Linked DNA regions of Homo sapiens: region 1 is linked to region 2. Evidence: promoter capture Hi-C in human tissues and cell types (Jung and others, 2019). All regions are on one chromosome and are shown on one strand. The core of a region is centred on a gene start or on the middle of the fragment in contact, and the rest is flanking DNA. Distances in the headings are between cores, read along the strand shown.

Region 1 (4,395 bases), core at 1,752-4,251, 300 kb before region 2:
AAAATATGGAAGTAACCGCATCACTGTAGGACCTTTCTGTCCTCAAAAGGTACATAAAAGTACAGCATTGTAAGCAATGGTTTTTCAGATTCTTTTTAGCTGTAAAATGTTGTTACTAAGTCACTATTAAGACTAAAAGAGCAAGTACACAAATTCTTGAGGGGCTTTGGGTCTCATTTATCTTTTAAAATCTTGCATGGACACCTCTTGAGAAGATCTTGAAATGCATATTTTAGAAACCTCATCGGTTTTTTTAAAGTATCTTGTAAAATATTCTTTACATTCATCCACTTTAGTAAAATTAACTGTGTGTTATATGATGATGTTAAAATAATTTATAGGTACATGAAAATTAATAATAGCAACAACAGAAACTAAAATGTCCTTAAAATGACATTTAATATATGGTATTTCTCGGCAACACCCAGAAGCTTAAGGGTTATAGGGTTACAGGAAATGCAGTAACAGATGCTGAACGAGGGTGCAGGACTGTAGATTTTATGAACGGGTATGCTGAGGAAATGAGTTTTGACAAGGTTTCTAGGCATTTCAACATTGGCAAAGTGGCTAATTGAATTAACATCCGTCAGACTGGGAAATGCTCTACACTTGGAATATCTCTTTTTGGCAGGCCAACAAGGCGAGAGGTTTGCTCCCCTGTAATGGGTACCCTGTAACGGTACTGTCCATTTCGTTTTGCATAATAACACCTCTGGCTGAGCCCAAATTCTGTGTGGTTTAATCTCTGTTATGCAATTTTGTTATCCAAAATATAACCCAGTTCGTTTTGCAAGGGGCTGGTCATTTCATGTGCGGGATATGTGTTCATGTTTGCGATGTCAGCCAGCTGATTTGGGCAGAGTGAATCAGGCACTTTCGTCTTACTTTCTCTTTAAACTGGGGTGTAGGTAACTGTGGAAGAGGAGCTGTGGAATTGGCTGGGGCTTGACATTCAGCAGAACTTTAATTTGGACGAATAGCTTTAGGCAGGGTTTGATGGCGTTTTGTTACGACTCAGGCTTGAGGTTCTTCTGCCATTTTAGGCTGTACTCACCTGCCCTTCATTACAGAGGGAGTGGGGATTTAATGAATGACCCTCTGTTCTCATTGTGCCTTCAGAGCTTCTCTTTGCAGCTCTAGTATTTAGGCTGCTAGGAAGGTTGAAAAAATTTGTGACCAGACACTGTTAGAGCTACTACCCATGGCTAGTGCCTGCATGTGTGTGTGTGTGTGTGTGTGTGTGTGTGTGTATTTCATTGTCGAGTAAGCACACAGAGGATCTACACATGCTCTTTAAGGCTCAGTGTTTATAGGTCAAAAAATGCATATGCACCTCGAACTCAGAAAACCACCTGGCTACAGAAAAGTACAATATGGACAAGTCCAGCCATTTTTTTTAGCTCAAAAGTCCTCAGGCTGAAATCCATGTTCTGGATTCCACCTCCTGAGGCTTAATCTCATGGATCTCATGGACCTCAGTGTTTTCATCTATATGATAGGGTCATGGCCAGGGCCAAATCACCTAACCACAGAAAACACTTGATGACAGGAGATGCTGAATCACTGGCCATTATTCTCATTACACTATTTTTCTATACTTTTTTTTTGAGACAAGGTCTTCCTCTGTCAAGCAGGATGAAGTGCAGTGGCACAAACACAGCTCACTACAGCCTCGACTTCCCAGGCTCAAGCCATCCTCCCACCTCAGCCTCCTGAGTAACTGGGACTACAGGTGCACGCCACCACATCTGGCTAATTTTTTAATTTTTTCTCTCGCCATGCTGCCCAGGCTGGTCTTGAACTCCTGGCCTCAAGAAATCCTCCTGTCTCAGCCTCTCAAAGTGCTGGGATTACAGGCATAAGCCACTATGCCCTGCTTATTTTTCTATACTTTTAAAAAACTAATACATTTTAATTTGTGTCTTTTTTTTTTCTGACGAAGTTTCTCTCTTGTTGCCCAGGCTAGAGTGCAATGGCATGACCTCAGCTCATCACAACCTCCGCCTCCCAGGTTCAAGTGATTCTCCTGCCTCATCCTCCCGAGTAGCTGGGATTACAGACATGCACGACCACGCCCAGCTAATTTTGTGTTTTTAGTAGAGATGGGGTTTCTCCATGTTGGTCAGGCTGGTCTCGAACTCCCGACCTCAGATGATCTGCCCACCTCGGCCTCCCAAAGTGCTGGGATTACAGGCGTGAGCCACTGCTCCCGGCCTTTGTGTCTCTTTTATAGGACATCTGTTAAACATGCAGTGAATGATTTGCCAATAGAAATATGTACAAATCAAGCCATCTTAAATTGAGTCTCGAGAAGAAAACAGCCCTATTTTTCTGAGTTTCCATTAGCTTGTCATGTTCTTCCTTGGTTCAGAAGCACTTCACAGGGCTGCATTCAAGACCCTGAAGTGACACTCACTAGGGAAACAGGGTTAGCAGCGTCTGTTGCCAATAGAAGATGAGTGATGGAGGTGGTGAGTGACAGCTATACGCTCTCCAGTTTCAGAAAGCTGAGGAAGACGGCAATCCACAGCTGGCCAGGTATTTTCCTGTACCATGGGAGAACTATGGTTCTTCCTGAGGCCCAGTCCTCTTGAAATGCTGGGCCCTGTGCTAAACAGGTATCACCGGCTTGTTCTGGCTAAACCCACTGTAACATCAAGCTCTTCCTTTGCCAGAAAGAAGAAGATATTTTACTTCTGTGTTTACTGTTATGCTTTTTTGTCCTGAGTGTGGTTTTTCCCCTTCCTTGTTTGCCTTCTGAACATGTTCTTTCACCAGGAGCTCCCTCAGGGAATGGGCCCAGTCCCTTACAAATCAAGCCTGGGCTTGGGGTTCAGGGACTGGCTCTCTGAGCAGGCCTTTGCTTGTGACAAGCGTTCCTGACTAAGGAACAGTGAGACTTGACTCTTCCATTTATCCCAAATTACCATTTTTCAAAAAATTCACGCCTCTCTTGGGTTGCCCCCATCTATAACTTCTCCGCAATCCCTGAGGTGCCTGATGTCTAAGATTTTAGTGAAGTGACATCTTCTATTATGAAAATGTTGTACTCTTGGGATAAGCAGGCTCCTAGTTATTCGTCCTTATTAATGCGGTGGAGTGCTGTAGGGAGCTCATGGCCTCTGTTCACCATGAGGTTGGGCAGCTGTGTATTGTAGCTAACGTTGCCCAGCATGCCCAGATCCCCCCACCAGCACTGAGACGCTCATTCCCTCAAGGCTGGTGGCTCACAGCAGAGCCTCCTTTCCATTGCCTTAGGCTAAAGAGAACCATAAAACCCAAGCAAACACCCCCTTCCTGGGGACCACTCACTGTGGGGTACAAAAGCTTCAATGGAGGACAACTCTGAGGACCATCCCAGCACCAGAGCTCCACGGAAGATCAGCTTGGATCTGTTTTGCTACTGCATCACAGTCAGACTTCTCTCCTGGTCAGCCCTGCTCCTCATCCCTCACAGGCATCAATCTCCATAACTCTTCCCAGTACACCAGCTGCCTGCCGGGAAATCCAGCCCATGCCATGCCAACCATGTGGGTTTGTTATAACAGTTTTGTTGCTGCAAAGATGAAGGCATGGAGATAAAATCATTGCTACCCAATCACACAGAGATTTCTATCTCTGTGGCTCCAGCCACAGCCCCCATGCCCTGGCAGGAGGAATTATTCTGAGAAAGTGGGAGTTCTTGCCCAAAGGAAATGATTTAGCCTGTGGTGCCCCAAGAGCAAGGAGGGGACAGGCTGAGCTACAGCAGGGCCACGTCAGAGTTAGGTTAACATCGGGTCTCTTAGAATCTCAGCAGCAAGAGAAAGGCAACGAATATGGAGGTGGGAGGGCTCTGTGACAAATGCAGCGATTTAAGAATGTGGTCTGGCTCTGTTTCCAGCACATGTAGATTTCTGAAATGGAAAAGCGACAGAACTTCCTAGGGACCCCACAAATTAGAACTTGGGAACATAAACTATGTTGGTGGGCTCATACCAGCTCTAAAAAATAGCTTCATTGAGCAAATTAATCAAGTCATTTTGATCACAAGGAAAACCCACATCTGCTGAGAAATAAATGATTTTCAGACCCTTTAAGAGGTGATGTTAACGTGTAATCCATTTGAGCAAATATAAAGTTCATTCTTTCTACAGTCGACACCCGCTGGTGAGGCAGGGCGAGAGGCAGTTTTTGCCTTTGAGGACTTTGTGTTCTGCTCACCTGCTTCTTAAACTTGGATGTGCCTCTCCTTTTAGTACTTGGCAGTGGGATGGAGGAAGGGCCCACCACAGGAAAGCACGTCTTCCTGAAATCTCAACCTCACCTAATGATTTTGGAAAATAACATTATTTTGATATCAAAACAAGTGTAAACTCTTCCTGGCGCAGGATAGAAATTTTTGTCCATTTGAAG
Region 2 (4,174 bases), core at 1,299-3,798:
CACGCATCCAAATAGTGTTTCCGGCATGAAGATATGTAATTTCTAGAATGAGGTACAAACAATTGACAGGAAGAATTGTCAAAGACTGTAGATTTTTCTTTCCCAGAACTGTTTACCTACAGTGATGGAATACTATTTGGCTTATCAAGTTCCTAAGCAGTCAGAAAGTGACTCTCTGCAGAGAACCTTCAGATGTGATAAAGTGCTTTTAATTTAAAGATGGAAGCATTCCAGATGTATATGCACTTATAACAGGACCCAATGCAGTTGAAAAACAAAATAAGCAAAAATTGTAGTACAACCACTTGATGTTAACTGCTATGTCAAAGTTCTACAAAGAAAATTACATGAGATGAAATTTATAGCCTGAAAACAGAGTAATAATCATCTGGAAAAAATTAAAATTGTAAACACTTTTCAACTTGGACAACTAATCAATATGGAGATTATGATAATGCGTTTCATATTTGAAATACGTTTGAACTTGAAAAATAAAATATAATGGGCCACAAATAACTTTTATATTCACAGATGTCATAACACAACTATTTTTTACTTACCCTGTTGTCTCTGAGAAACATTTGAAATGACTATTATTTTATTTAAGCTAATACATACAAGTAAACAATACAATTTAAACTAAACCGGAAACGTAAAATTCAAACTGTAGTTTTCAGAAGGATCCCAGCAAGTGTTTAAATACATACATAAGTGCTTCTTTGTGTATCATTAGTTTGTTTTTCTTAAGTAGGTAATTCCAGTGCAGGTGAGGATGAAGACCTAGCCGATGTGTTTCAAGTTCATAAAAGACCTGTAAAAGTAGCATCGTGTTAAAACTGTAGCAATATTAATCTTGCTAAGTCAATACTGATGTTTGTAAACAATTCCTGTAACCTTGCATTTTATTTTTACAGTATATTAAAACATTACTCTTAACATTCGTCTGTCACTTCCTTCCCACAGGTGACCTATGGCTTTTTCCCCCCTAGAAAGGGCAGATTCTTTGCAAAACCATACTGAGTTGAACAAAACAATTATTAAAATCCTAAGAACAAAACCATGGAGAACATTTCCACCAAAGGGCTAAAACCAAACAGAAAAAGGAATATGTAACACTGTTCTTGCCTTCAAGACATGTACTGTCAGGTTAAACTTAAATCGATTCCACACACCCTTTTCTGGAAAAAAAATAAAACAAAATATTGCTTAAGAAAGCACTCTCCTTGTTTTTCTTTCTCCTGCTCCAGTTTCCAGGAAAACTTAAAAGTGTTATCTTTGTTTTCTCGTTATCATTATTATTGCTGCAAGATTGTTTTCAAAATTTAATCAATATGCTTTGCACACTGCTTTTGTCTTATGCTTTGTCTTGTTCAGTATTTAGTAGAGAGTTCATAATGTCTAAGTATTCGGGTAAAACTGCAAGTCAAAGGATGACAAAGTTTTAAAAATCTGTTTATCTATGGTTTTGTATTTTTCCAAAGAAACTACAATTTTCACCTGATTTCTGCATCCATTTTCATATCGCTTGAACAGGTTATATTTTTCCAACAACAACAAAAAGACCCGTTGCGAACAACTAGAAATATTTGGAAGTTTTGATATTTTGTCTTTCTCTTCTTTTTGATCACGGTAGTGATGGGAGAATAAACTTAAGTCAGAGATATTTACTGAGAGAAAGAGAGTAAGAACACACACAAAGGGAAAGAAAGCAGAAAAAACTTTACAAGTGCAAACTCAGTAGGAAACATTTTAGGAAATAAAAATGTTCCCCCTCTTTCCCTTGTTCAATTTCCATCCCCACAGAGGAAAAACAGAATACTTACAAGTTAGCATCTGCGTATTTATCAGTGTATGTGTGTTTTCTCTCTTCTCTGGGCTTGGATACTTTGAGCTAATTTGGAAGTGCCCGTTTGGTTGCCCACAAAATGATGCTTAAGGGTCTAAAAACGCATAAATTAGGGAGCCCTACAATGGCAAAGGACGGTCATTGTACCTCCTCTCTTTATGCGCTCTTACGGTGGGACCCAAGAGCCTTTTTTTTTTTTTTTAACACTTTAGGTGATGGAGCGAATGAGGGGCTGATAACTGGAGAGGACGAAGCAAGCCCCCGCAACACCCTCCCCCCAAACTTAGCAGCACGTTCCCCATTCCGCAATTATACCGGACTTTGGTGCGAAGTCACTTTAGAAAACTGGGATCTGGAAGGGGCCAGGCGCGGAGTCCATGTCTAGCCTCGACGCCAGCCTCCGAGTTTCTATTTCTGGTGCTCGAGGGCTGGGGTAACGGCCGCGGATGGAGGAGCGAAGGATGGGAAAAGCAAAGGATGGGAAAAGCAAAGATGGGAAAAGCAACGGGGAGTGATCTTTCCAAGAAACACCCAACTGCCCCTTTTACCTTTTTTTGCCTCCATTATGGGGCGGGGGTTGGGGGGGCGAGAGAAAAAGATGTCAATGACCATTGTTTGCTCGTTTGGGATGTTGCTCCGCCCCCCGAGTCTGTCGTAAACCTGGCGCCGGACTAAAATAAACCCCAGATCCCGCAGCCCGGGGGGCTCGCCGAGCCGCCGACTCCTCGTCACAGGCTCAGCTGCCGCGGCCGAGGTGGCGGCGACGAGCGGCCGCCGCGTCCTGCCGGCGCGCGCCCCAGGCCCCCCTACCTGGCTGCCCGCCGAGCCATGTCGTTGAGCCCAAAGCACACGACGCCCTTCTCCGTGTCCGACATCCTGAGCCCCATCGAGGAGACCTACAAGAAGTTCAGCGGCGCCATGGACGGCGCGCCACCCGGCCTGGGGGCGCCCCTGGGGGCCGCGGCCGCCTACCGCGCGCCGCCACCTGGGCCCTCCTCGCAGGCGGCGACCGTGGCGGGCATGCAGCCTTCTCACGCCATGGCGGGTCACAACGCGGCGGCCGCGGCGGCGGCGGCAGCAGCTGCGGCGGCGGCGGCCGCCACCTACCACATGCCGCCCGGCGTCTCGCAGTTCCCGCACGGCGCCATGGGCAGCTACTGCAACGGCGGCCTGGGCAACATGGGCGAGCTGCCCGCCTACACGGACGGCATGCGGGGCGGCGCGGCCACCGGCTGGTACGGCGCCAACCCGGACCCACGCTACTCGTCAAGTGAGAGGGGCCAGGAGCGCGGGGCTGCGGGCGGCTCAGGCGTTTCCCGCCACAGCCGAGGGGCGCGGGGGCGCGGGACGGGGTGCGCGCGGCTTAGGAGGTCCTGGGGCCGAGCGGGCGCGCGGGGCGTCCTGGGACGCGGCCCGGGACGCGCGGGGTTTCTGGGGACCCTGGGCGCGCGGGGGGTCCTGGGACCTGACCGGGAACGCGCGCGGCGTCCTGGGACCCGTTGAGGGCGTGGTGCTCTGGGACCCGCCGAGGGCGCGCGGGGCGTGCTGGGGCCGGAGGCCGCGGCGGTCAGGGGGTCTTGGGATTCAGCGAGGGCCCGGCGGCGTCGCGGCCGCGGCGTGAAGAGAGCGGCGGCTGGACCGGCTCCCGGCGGGCCTGGAGCTCACTCGCCTTCCCCCTTGGGACTCTTCCCCAGTCTCCAGGTTCATGGGGCCGTCGGCGGGCGTGAATGTGGCCGGCATGGGGTCGCTGACCGGCATCGCGGACGCCGCCAAGTCGCTGGGCCCGCTGCACGCGGCGGCGGCGGCAGCCGCTCCGCGAAGGAAGCGCCGCGTGCTCTTCTCGCAGGCGCAGGTCTACGAGCTGGAGCGGCGCTTCAAGCAGCAGAAGTACCTGTCGGCGCCCGAGCGCGAGCACCTGGCCAGCATGATCCACCTGACGCCCACGCAGGTCAAGATCTGGTTCCAGAACCACCGGTACAAGATGAAACGGCAGGCCAAGGACAAGGCGGCGCAGCAGCTGCAGCAGGAGGGCGGCCTGGGCCCGCCGCCGCCTCCGCCGCCGTCCCCGCGCCGCGTGGCGGTGCCTGTGCTGGTCAAGGACGGCAAGCCGTGCCAGAACGGCGCCAGCACGCCCACCCCCGGCCAGGCCGGTCCGCAGCCGCCGGCCCCGACGCCAGCACCTGAGCTGGAGGAGCTGTCGCCCAGCCCACCCGCGCTGCACGGCCCGGGGGGCGGCCTGGCGGCCCTGGACGCGGCCGCCGGGGAGTACAGCGGCGGCGTCCTGGGCGCCAACCTGCTCTATGGCAGGACGTGGTGACAGCGAGGGCG

Evidence for each region. The method cuts DNA at HindIII sites, captures the fragments that hold promoters and counts their contacts. A contact is called where the count stands out against the background at its distance.
Region 1: a fragment that was not itself captured here is called in contact with the fragment with the promoter of NKX2-4 in region 2 in 1 of the 25 tissues and cell types used here (mesendoderm cells).

The regions. Positions count from the first base shown.
Region 1 is chr20:21,693,619-21,698,013 of GRCh38, reverse strand. The region is part of intron 1 of LINC01726 (long intergenic non-protein coding RNA 1726); the gene reads left to right. Among named protein-coding and RNA genes, the nearest start is that of LINC01726, 7.8 kb to the left of the region's middle. The HindIII fragment of the contact is 5,954 bases long and covers 25-4,395 here.
Region 2 is chr20:21,395,900-21,400,073 of GRCh38, reverse strand. It overlaps NKX2-4 (NK2 homeobox 4), which reads left to right and starts at 2,548. Exons shown (of 2, transcript NM_033176.2): 1 at 2,548-3,116; 2 at 3,541-4,174. The coding sequence starts at 2,675. The coding sequence ends at 4,163. It overlaps LOC105372558 (a long non-coding RNA gene), which reads right to left and starts at 2,140. Exons shown (of 4, transcript XR_001754528.1): 1 at 1,498-2,140; 2 at 708-811. The HindIII fragment of the contact is 9,137 bases long and covers 1-4,174 here.